4 separate regions of the Homo sapiens genome follow, and all the other regions are linked to region 3. The links are contacts of gene promoters, found by promoter capture Hi-C in blood cells and fetal thymus (Javierre and others, 2016). All regions are on one chromosome and are shown on one strand. The core of a region is centred on a gene start or on the middle of the fragment in contact, and the rest is flanking DNA. Distances in the headings are between cores, read along the strand shown. Region 1 holds the start of PRKAR1A (protein kinase cAMP-dependent type I regulatory subunit alpha). Region 2 overlaps KCNJ2-AS1 (KCNJ2 antisense RNA 1). Region 3 holds the start of ABCA5 (ATP binding cassette subfamily A member 5). Region 4 has its middle 140 kb from the start of LINC01482.

Region 1 (2,700 bases), core at 62-2,561, 810 kb before region 3:
TTTAAACATACAGCCCTTGAAGTATATACAATGTTACTACAACAGCTCCTGGACACTTGCATATGTGTGTATTTTGCTTTTTTGTATTGTGTTGAATCCATTATGAATTTTAAGCACACGGCCCTAGAAATATATACAATGCTACTAAAGCAGCCCCTAGCCAGACACTTGGACATGTTTCCTTGATGGGCCTTCTTTATTGAGTTACAGACTTGATGTGTCTAAAATTGTACCGTCTCCCTTTTCTTCCTCCTTAGACAGATACTCTGATGGAAAAAAAAAATGGCTGAAAGAGTAAAGTCGCTTTTCCTCCGAATTTTCCCCATTAGTGCAGCTTGTCTGGACAGCTGCGATTTCTTGTTGGGTCACAGGGCATTTTTGACAATCTGCACGCTCTGCACTTCTCCCTCTGTGAGGTCAGGAGTGATGGGGGGGCACTTCAGGTTCTAGAAGGACTCAGGCCTCCTCTTGGACCCTGACAAAGTCCTTTCCCGTGCCTGGTTTCCACAGGGACGGTGTTGCCTGCACAGACGACAGCACCCCCGGCGGGGGAGAGCGGCCCCAGCGGAGACTCGGCAGGGCTCAGGTTTCCTGGACCGGATGACTGACCTGAGCCCGGGGCCCGGGCGGCGCTGGCCGGGCACAGGATGCGCGGCCCGGAGAGCGCATCCCGGCCATCCGCCCGCGCTCGGCCCCGCAGCGCAGCTGCTGCAGATCCGCGGGGGCCGCCACCTCCTCCGGGGGCTGGCAGCGACAGGACTCTCCCCGCCCCGGCCCGGGGCCCTCCCTTGCAGGGGCTGCGGGGAGGAGTCGCCCACCTGTCATCTGAGACGCCCCACGTGGGTCGGCCAGGGAGGGGGTGGAAAGGAGGGAGAAAAGGCAGAGGCGTCAAGGGAGGCCGGAGGGAGAGTGGGGTGGACAGAGGAGCGGAGGGACGAGAGGGAAGCGCACGATAGCTGCGCGGAGAGAGAGCGAAGAGCAGGCGGAGGAACAAAGGCGACCCAAGACACCCAGAGAGGGACAGGTAAGGAGGGGCAGGTGAGCAGGAAGGAGGAGAGAACCGGGCTAGGGAGACTGCGGAAAGGAGAAGTGGCGGGCGTGAGGAAACTGCTGTGGATAAGGGACGAGTAAGATGGAAAGAATGGCGGAAGACGAACGACCGCAGAGTGAGGGTCCTTCCAAGAGCGACCAGGGGGGAGGAACTGGGGCTGTTGCGCCCTTAAGGTTGCTAAGGCGACGGTTCTGGCCAGAGCGAGGCGCATTGACGTCAGTAGCCGAACGCTGATTGGCTGCGGCCAGGCCGTTTCCGGTGGAGCTGTCGCCTAGCCGCTATCGCAGAGTGGAGCGGGGCTGGGAGCAAAGCGCTGAGGGAGCTCGGTACGCCGCCGCCTCGCACCCGCAGCCTCGCGCCCGCCGCCGCCCGTCCCCAGGTGAGTGGGGTCGGCCGGGGGCTCAGGCGAGGTGAGCTTCGTCGCTTCGCAGCCGGTTTGCGGGAGCTGGACCGATCCAAGATGGCGTCACGGGGAGCGACCTGCAGGGGGACGGCCGCACCCCCTGCCCCTCCCCGGCCCGGCGGGCGCCTCCCCGCAGGCCTCACGCCCCCGGCTCCGAGTCTGCATCCTCAAGGCCGTCTGGGCGTTGGCTTTGGTGCGGGGCTCCCCAGCCGCCCCGCTCGCGCTCGCTGCCCCCACCCCACGGCTCCTGGGGCCCTGGGCCCTCCGCGGCCCTCCCCGGCCGCCTTCGCCCCCGCGCGCCGCGGCCTCTTCGCTCACCCTCCCCCATTTCCTGAAGGACAACGGCTCTATTTTACTGGGGTCCGCCATCGTCTCGTCCGCCGGTCCTGGCTCTTCTTGTAAGCCGGTAGTTTTCCTCTCCACTTTTGACGACTCGTCATTGCTAGCAGTAGCCTTTCCTCTTCATAGCGGAGTGATCTTTCCCCCAACACGACGGTCTTAGTCGGGCTCCTGAATTTCCTCTTGTCCCCTTTCACCTCTCTCCCTTTCCCAATTTTGCCCCCCTGAGGCCTCCTCGCCACCACTGTGGCCTTCCGACTGGCGTAGCTTGAAGTCTCGGCTTCCCTTCATTTTGTGGTCATGACCGTGGCCTACGTGAAGTGAAGGGCATTTTCCTGCCCTTCTTCTAGAAAATACACGGTACCTATTAACCTCTTCAGCTCAGAGCCTGTGGTGACGACCGTCCTACTCCTTGAGAGATTCCCAAGAGATCCGTCTTTTTAGCAGAGCGAGGAAAGCAAACACTTACTCAAGATGACCCTAGGGGAGCCGTAACTTGGCTGGTCTAAGGGGGTGCGGTCTGAATCAGGAACAGTTTCTCAAAGTGTTTTTATTTATTTCCCAGAATGTAATCCTTTCGAAACAATTTTGTCACAACTGAATTTTCAAAAGAATGAATCTGAGTGTTTTGTTTTACATAGAGACAATGCAGCGAAAGTTTTAAAGCAGTTAAATAATTGTGTGTGGGGAGGGAAGGCTAGGTTGTTGGGCTTTACAAATAAGTACACATAGAGAATCCGGGTAACTCGATTAAAAATATTAAGACTGTGAAGTCTGGTTATTCAGGGATTTACATGGTGACTGCATTAATTTTGGTACATTTCTGTTCGTATACTGTCCTATTACCGGTGGCTATCTTTTTGGTTTTCGTAATACATTAGTTGTTTCAAACAAAAACACAGTTTCA
Region 2 (2,700 bases), core at 9-2,508, 840 kb after region 3:
TCTCACCTAGCATATAGCCAAAGTACAACGTAGTTATTTCAACAAATACGTTCACTGAATTTAAAAATATGAAGATTAAATATTATCAATGCAGTAAGTGAAACTAAAGGCCAAAACTGTTTTCCAATAAATAAGATTACATACAGTGCCTTAAAATACCACAGTAAGTGGCTTGTTCTCATAGCAGCAGATTGCAAACTCAGCCTGTCTACATTTCCGGGCAATCTGACAATGATTTATTTACTATTTATTGCTAATGATGATTACTTTGAAGATTAGAAAGTGGTTTTTAATATCCAGTGGATACAAATGCCAGGAGCGTTTGATGTTTTACCATTGTGAATTTGAACTGCATATACATGGTTAATGTAAGTCTGAAAGTATGTCTAATTGTTGGGGATCTTTATATAAATGCAAAGGAAAGATCTGTGCTTCTAGTGAAACAATCACCTTCTGCGTCACACAGCTATTCACAATCTGACTGCAGATCCAGATTGTGACTAATATTTGGCTCTAATATTATAGGTGGTTACCGTGGAGAGAATCAGTAAGAGCATAATTGTCATTTCCTTGGAAAAATTTAATCCACAGATGGATCCCAACACCCAATTGCATTCGTGTCCAAGACTAATGGGGATTTTTGCTAAATAAGGCCTGATTCAGCCAAAAAAGATAGACTCTGAATACAGAAATCTGCATCACGCATCACTTCAAAAGATGTATTAAATCAAACACTGAAAGCATTGGCACACAGAATTTTCCTAATAGGGACATGATGAAAAGTCATTTATTAATTAAAATGCATTTATATTTTCTTTTTTTAAAATGAAGCAATGGGGGTATTCTACGCTACCATACATTTACAAAATTTCATTTGCAAAATTTCATCCTTCATACTTCCTTATTTAGCTAATTAAGGTAATGATTCTACTTAGATTGGAAAGTTCTAATTAAAATCATTAATTTTTCCCGAACCTTCTCCTTCAAGATCTAAGCTTTGCTGCACATCCTTCAGTCTTTGGGAGGAGAGAATGTTGGGGGATGTGCTGCTGATAATTGATGAGAGAGAGCAGGATACATTTATTATGACCTTCCTCCCGCTGCCCAGCTAAATTTATACAGCCAACCATAATCTAATAACTCTGTGTTCCTTTCTTTAAAGATTTTCCTATCATATGAAACTATTTCGGCCTGTGGTGTATTCTTTCTAATTAGAGTAGAATACTAAAGCAAAACCATTTCAATCCAAGTTGCATAAAAATGCCATCCCTTTCCGAGTGACTGGTTTTCAAAGCGAGCTCATTACCTGGAAAAACAACAACAACAAAAGTGTTGCCTCTCTGAATTCACGTGGTTTGGAAAATTCTTAGCCATCTACAGATGCACCAACTGAATCATAATAAAGAAGAGAAAATCTATAAATGATTAATTTCCTTTTTCTATTTAGGCTTAACATGTTTTAAGGGATAATTAAACTTTTGGCCTGTTTCTTAGAAGTCCAGGAGGAAGCATATTTCAGAAGAAGCTTATTGAACTGAGCGGTGAACTCATTCATTATCCTTTGGTTAATACAGAGTGAACTTGTCTACCCTCAGGTTCATTTAGCTTTAGGCTACAGCCTAGATTCTTAGACATCCGTCTATTTTACAGTATTAATTCAAGCTGTTTATAAATAACACATGACTAAATAGATGTTAAAGAAGACCTCCCTTGGGGCAGGCATTATTCCCACGTGCATGGCAACAGAGTTCGTAACAGGGCTTGGTGAACAGTATAATCTCAACACATTAACTGGGACCACATCGCCATTTGGCTATCAGAGCAGCCACACCGAGTGCATCATCTCTTGCACACCCTTTTAATTTAAGTACCTTGCTCAGTGCTAAGAAAAAAGGCACACTTGTTAAGGCAGGAGTAAGTGCGGATCTGCGAAACCTAAGCAAGCATATTTCACCAGCACCTCCTAGGGGCCACGTGTGGATATGAGGATGGGAGGTGGGGACTCGCACAGAACCTTTCCTTGAATTGTCAGTTTCACCTCTCCTACACACAAAAATCCACCCCGACTGCGCCGTCCACAATACCAGCTAGTTTGCTGAATTAGTTCAGCGACTCAAGGAGGCCTTACGAGGTTTAAATAAACTGCACAAAAGACACATTTGATCGCTCGAGAAAATAAACATTTAAAAAACTCAGTGGAAAGAAAGACTCCTAAAATATATCCTGTCCTTTAGGAGCAAAGCTTCGTTAGGACACCGAAGTACTCAGAAATAATAGGCACTTACTCTTCGGTTTACACACACACACACACACACACACACGGATTAGTTTATAAAGTTCCAGGATCCAGACCCGGTTAACACTGAAGTTGCTTTTTAGGGGTCTGCGCGCTCTCGCCTGGCTGCTGGGAAGGAGGGCTGGGAGGCGCTGAAGCGAGGGCAGATCTGAGTGTCTGTAGGAGTTGCTATTCCAAAAAAAATCATTACTCTCTAATTGTTCTGATTTTAGATCAGCAAAGCGTGCCGGGCGGTGGTGGAGAGACTGAGGGCGGACAAGGCGAGAGGGAACGAGCCGTCCACCCTTCGGAGAAGCCTAGGCGCCTTGTAAGTAATTCGCGAACAGTCGGGAGAACAAACAGCCAAGCGGCGCTGCAGTGGCCGCACTTGCGCGCGTCTCAATCCTGGGGGCTCTGCGCGCCCG
Region 3 (2,700 bases), core at 184-2,683:
TGGGCGCAGTGACACACGCCTGTAGCCCCAGCTATTCAGCAGGGTCCCTAGAGTCCAGACGTTCAAGGCTGCAGTGAACTTTGATCGCACCACTGCACTCTAGCCCGAGACGCTGTCTCTTTAAAAATAAAAGACATGCAATACACATGGAATGTACTAATAAATTTGCTCTTATAGTGAATGTAAGATTTCCCTACACTAAATCTGTTTGAAAGGAAATATACTCAAACAGCACATATGCAAAGATTAACGCCTCTTTAGTTTGATTTTAACACAAATACCCACAAAGCCCTAACTGCCCTAATAATGTTCCCTACTATGGAGTCTTCCCTAAAACACATACAATATTGCTCTCCCGGCAAACACAAAATATACTAAATAAAGCACCAGAATTAGGGTCTGGCAGCCCGGGTTGGAATCTCAACTCCATCCTTTTACTAGCTGAGACCTTAATAAGTTACTTAACCTCTTTGAGGCCCATTCTCCACACCTGCCCAACTGGAATAACCCCCTCCAATCCTACAGGGTTGCTGTCAGAATGAAAAGAGCTAATACCGAGCCTGGCTTAAAGCTGTAGTCCAGCAAATACTCCTCTTCCCTTAGATTCCTTCAGAACGCCCTTGTAGAAAGTAAACGTGGTTATTATCTTCATTATTTTCGGACTTATTTATTTAAAACGTAAATCGAAGCCTGAGGAGCCCAGGGGAAAACCTCCTTCAGCTTAATAGCTCCAGCCTGCCCAGCTTTCCGATCCAATTAAGTATTTCCATGCCTGGAGCTCCTATTCGTGTTTTAGGATCAGGGAATTTCCCTCCCAAACTGTGTCATGAGATCTGCGCATTTTCTTCTCACTGAAACTCCTTTTAACACGCAAGGTAATGATCCGCGCGTAACCTCGCAGGGAAGAGCAAGCGCTCATTACCCAGCTGTTCAGACGGAAATTTACATCAATATTTGTTTTCCTTCTTTCCCTGAGGTTGCTGAGGGTGGAACGACAGCGTCCAGGCAAAGGCAGTGTCCCGAAGTCCCACGGCCGGACCCGGTCCCAGGGGAGCCTCGCGGAGCCCCCGCCGCAGGGCCCCGACCCCCTCACGTCCGCATCCTGGGCGCTCCCACCGCATCCCCGAGGCTGGCAACCCGCGCTTCCCGGGAGCTGAGGGAGGTCTGTTTCCCTCAGCTCGCCGCCTCTGCCCGCTTCCGAGCCCGCTTCACCCCACACCTCAGACGCCGAACTCCCCTTCTCTCCCCGCCGTCCCTCGCTGGCCAGCCCCTCCTCGTCCCCTCAACTCCCCCAGGGACGGCTGTCCCAGGCTAGCCTCAAGCGCCGCCGCCGCCCGCGACGCCCGCCTCACCTCAGGGCCCGAGCCGCAGAGCTGTCAGGCCTGGACGCGCTCAGTCTGTTGACTCAGTGCGGGTGACCCAGCTGGGATCTGTGCGAGGGCGCGGCCGCGCGCACCCGCGCGCTCCTGGCGCAGGCAGAGCTGGCGGCGCCGAAGTCGCGCCCCGCCTCCTGCAGAGCGCACCTGAGGGCGGGGCTCCTAGAAAGCGCCGCTCCGCGTACGGGCGCGCTTCAGACGCTCGGCCCCGCGCGTCCCGGCGCACGCAGGCAAGCAGCGCGCCCGGAAGAGGAGAGCGGCTGAGGGTGGGGCGAGCGGTGGCGCGCCGCTGCCCAGGGCCCCTGAGCCACTAGAGTCGGGCCTCGTGGCTCTTCCCCAGGGCCTCCCACGCCTGGGTTCTGCGGGGATCTCGCCACGCTCTTTCTGGAGGCACGGGCAAAAACCACGGCCTCGTGTCTCAGTGGTAAACCTGCCGCCTCTTAGCGGGTGACCTTGGCCCACGGCCCTCTCCTCATCTGCCTCGCCCAGTCACGTCTCCTCTTAAGCATCCTTGCCGTCTGTCTCCTGGCATTTGGATGGGCCTCTCTGAACGCGTTTTGAGTCCTCTGCAGCCCCGCTTCCTCCCGCCGCGGCATCTGGAGTGCTGTGGCCCCGTTTCCGTAACTCTTGCCTCCCCTCCCCAGCCTCCTCATTGGCCCTCACACCCCGACCTGGGAGGTCCTCCCACTGAGGGTGCTTGTAGTTCGCGGAGTGTCCTCATCAAAGACTGGGAATGCGGCAGATGCTGAATTTTCCAAACGGCCTGAGACACATGACATCTGTGAGAGACTGGATACTGCACTTACTTTGCTAAAAATATAATCTAGTGTTTTGAGCTTCATTACTCAAAGTGACCTAAATGGGGTCAAAAGTTATTAACACTAACATTACGTATTTTCCTCTCCACATTTCTGTATAGTCACATTCCCTTGCACAAAGACTTTTTTTTTATTCTGTCAATCCTGTGTACATCATGTTTTTTTTTTTTACTTGTCTTTGTGTTATCTGCTTCTCGAATTTAAACCAGGTCTCCCCAACATGCACTCTGCTTTCTAAATTCTTAGGGGAAAAACAAACAAACAAGGAATCAAGTTTTACTTATGGAATATGAATTAAATAGAAAATTCAAAGAGGTTCGTCAGAATCCTTGATGATTAAAACAGCGGTCCCCAACCTTTTGGGCACCAGGGACCAGTTTCATGGAAGACAGTTTTTTCTGGGGGAGGGAGGATGGTTTGGGGATGATTCAAGCACATTATATTTACTGTGCACTTTATTTCTACTGTTACTACACTGTAATATGTAATGAAATAATTATACAACT
Region 4 (2,700 bases), core at 186-2,685, 550 kb before region 3:
GTGAATAGTGCCGCAATAAACATACTTGTGCATGTGTCTTTATGGCAGCATGATTTATAATCCTTGGGGAAAATACCCAGTAATGGGATGGCTGGGTCAAATGGCATTTCTAGTTCTAGATCCTTAAGGAATCGCCACACTGTCTTCTACAATGGTTGAACTAGTTTACAGTCCCACCAACAGTGTAAAAGTGTTCCTGTTTCTCCACATCCTCTCCAGCACCTGTTGTTTCCTGACTTTTTAATGATCGCCATACTAACTGGTGTGAGGTGGTATCTCATTGTGGTTTTGATTTGCATTTCTCTGACGGCCAGTGATGGTGAGCATTTTTTCATGTGTCTGTTGGCCGCATAAATGTCTTCTTTTGAGAAGTGTCTGTTCATATCCTTTGCCCACTTTTTGATGGGGTTGTTTGATTTTTTCTTGTAAATTTGTATAAGTTCTTTGTAGATTCTGGATATTAGCCCTTTGTCAGTTGGGTAGATTGTAAAAATTTTCTCCCATTCTGTAGGTTGCCTGTTCACTCTGATGGTAGTTTCTTTTGCTATGCAGAGACATAGCTTCTTATTTTCTATACAGGACCTGGAAGGAAAACCTGAAAAACCCATGACACTCCCTTTCCTGTTAGCTGTGTGGTGTTATGAAATGGACTGACAGGATTTAGCTTTCCCAGCACCACTGAAGGACCCTCAGCAACTTCAAGTTCAAAATGTCCTCACCTTCGCCTGATTTTGGGAAGTATTGCATCAACACGTTTTTGCAAAAAGAATGGAACTTTAAAATTTTTTCTTGGCGTTCTCTTTCTCTTTATACATGAGCAATAAATGTGTGCAGAAGTCATTCTAGCCAACAAGATTGTCAGGCCGAGACGGGCAGATCACGAGGTCAGGAGATCGAGACCATCCTGGCTAACACGGTGAAACCCCGTCTCTACTAAAAATACAAAAATTAGCCGGGCATGGTGGCGCGCGCCTGTAGTCCCAGCTACACGGGAGGCTGAGGCAGGAGAATGGCGTGAACCCGGGAGGCGGAGCTTGCAGTGAGTCGAGATCGCGCCACCGCACTCCAGCCTGGGCGACAGAGCGAAACTCCGTCTCAAAAAAAAAATAAATAAATAAAATAAAATAAAAAATAAAAAAAAAAAGATTGTCACCAGCTGTATTAACCTAAAAGTAGAGGAAGAATGAAGAATCCCTGAAAATCACATGTGCTGTGCTGCTGAGTGATGGCCTTTAAAACGTTGAGATTCATACGCCCTGTAGAGGGCAATGTTTCCCCTTGCCTAAAATGTTTTCACTATTCGAAAAGCATCAGTAAGTCCAAGGAGCGACATCCCAAGAGGGCAGAAATTAAGAAAGCTTTCTGGGTTCAGTATTGACTGTAAATGCCCACTGGAGAGGAGAAATCATCGATGATAGCCTTGACTATTGCTAGAATCTCTTCCTTTAGATTCCTGGGGCTAGAGTTGAGGATTTCACTTTAAGAAAGATTGAGACAGAGTGAAAGCAAGAGAGAAGCTTGTAAGAAGAAGTGGGAGGATGTTAACAGTGAGAGCTGGGAATTTGCTCATGAGGCCGAGTGGCTACCACAATCTCCAGTACAGGCTGAATGTGTGTCGTTCCATTCCGCTTCTACCCTCTGTAAGAGGCCTGCCCTGTTCACAAGGCCAATAAGGGGTTAGATTTTAAGGCTTGTTGAAAATAAACTTTGGTAATCCCAGTGCTTAGAGCCCAGTGACATAGAAAGGAGAGCCTTCTTCAACTTTTGGAGAGCAAACTTCTAGGGGGATGAGGTGGGAAGTTTACTTGGGGGAATCCTGCCCAGGGCATCACCTCAGCTTTCTGATCCTTGGTTTTTTTTTTTCCAGGATCCCAAAGAGAGGCACAAATGGTGTGTCCAAGCTTCAGATTGAACTCCTCTGAGACTTTTCTCTTCTCCATAATCATAGCTAGATGAACAGAAGGATGTGGCCACCACAAATTCAATGAATGTGTATACCTTTAGAATATTTGTGATTACACAAGTCCCTAGAGGCAGGTGGGGGCAAAGACTTCTTTGTAAAAGTCCAAAGGTGTCTTAGAAATGTGCAAAAGTACAAGACTTACTGAGGTACAGAAAGCAATGGCTCTTATTTTCAAAGGGAGCCCAAGAAAAGTTCTTTGAATTTTTCGTCTGGCCCTTTTACTTTTCAAATTTCTTATTTTGTCACACTTTGTGGTTGTAGCAATTTGTGAACAGAAAGCATCTCATCCTTTGCTCAGCATGGGCAGAAGGGACAATGAGCACCTCCTTGGTTGCATGTAGATTTTTCCATAGCAGAGTGAAAAAAGATTGGAAAAATTTGTTCCAGCATCCTTGCATGGAAGTAAAGACTTCCCATGAAACCAAAAGTATAGTTTCTCTCTGACATCTCTTGAAATAAACACTTCTTAGTCAGAACTATCCCCCCATAGATGGCACTTTAGGTTGGGCCAAAAATGGTAGAAAGGATATGGGATCTCTGCTTCCAACAGCATTTGACAATTATTCTACTAGAAAAACACATGCACAGTATGTTGATTGCAGCACTATTTACAATAGCAAAGACTTGGAACCAACCGAAATGCCCATCAATGATAGACTGGATAAAGAGAATGTGGCACATGTACACCATAGAATATTATGCAGCCATAAAAAAGAATGAGTTCATGTCCTTTACAG

Evidence for each region. Contacts are between HindIII fragments. The CHiCAGO score rates a contact against its expected background, and 5 or more counts as called.
Region 1: the fragment with the promoter of PRKAR1A here is called in contact with the fragment with the promoter of ABCA5 in region 3 in 1 of 17 cell types (erythroblasts); the score reaches 7.1 in erythroblasts.
Region 2: a contact is called between a fragment that was not itself captured here and the fragment with the promoter of ABCA5 in region 3, in 1 of 17 cell types (total B cells). The highest score is 7.6, in total B cells.
Region 4: a contact is called between a fragment that was not itself captured here and the fragment with the promoter of ABCA5 in region 3, in 1 of 17 cell types (total B cells). The highest score is 5.6, in total B cells.

The regions. Positions count from the first base shown.
Region 1 is chr17:68,511,119-68,513,818 of GRCh38, forward strand. It overlaps PRKAR1A (protein kinase cAMP-dependent type I regulatory subunit alpha), which reads left to right and starts at 1,312. Exons shown (of 11, transcript NM_002734.5): 1 at 1,312-1,430. RefSeq lists silencers at 493-852, 1,273-1,782 and enhancers at 786-1,359, 1,113-1,202. The HindIII fragment of the contact is 13,629 bases long and covers 1-2,700 here.
Region 2 is chr17:70,166,255-70,168,954 of GRCh38, forward strand. KCNJ2-AS1 (KCNJ2 antisense RNA 1) reads right to left here. Exons shown (of 1, transcript NR_036534.1): 1 at 707-2,700. Among named protein-coding and RNA genes, the nearest start is that of KCNJ2-AS1, 1.8 kb to the right of the region's middle. The HindIII fragment of the contact is 530 bases long and covers 994-1,523 here.
Region 3 is chr17:69,325,700-69,328,399 of GRCh38, forward strand. It overlaps ABCA5 (ATP binding cassette subfamily A member 5), which reads right to left and starts at 1,434. Exons shown (of 39, transcript NM_172232.4): 1 at 1,353-1,434. RefSeq lists silencers at 1,121-1,210, 1,341-1,720 and an enhancer at 1,801-1,940. The HindIII fragment of the contact is 4,188 bases long and covers 1-2,700 here.
Region 4 is chr17:68,770,764-68,773,463 of GRCh38, forward strand. No RefSeq gene overlaps it. Among named protein-coding and RNA genes, the nearest start is that of LINC01482, 140 kb to the left of the region's middle. The HindIII fragment of the contact is 159 bases long and covers 1,357-1,515 here.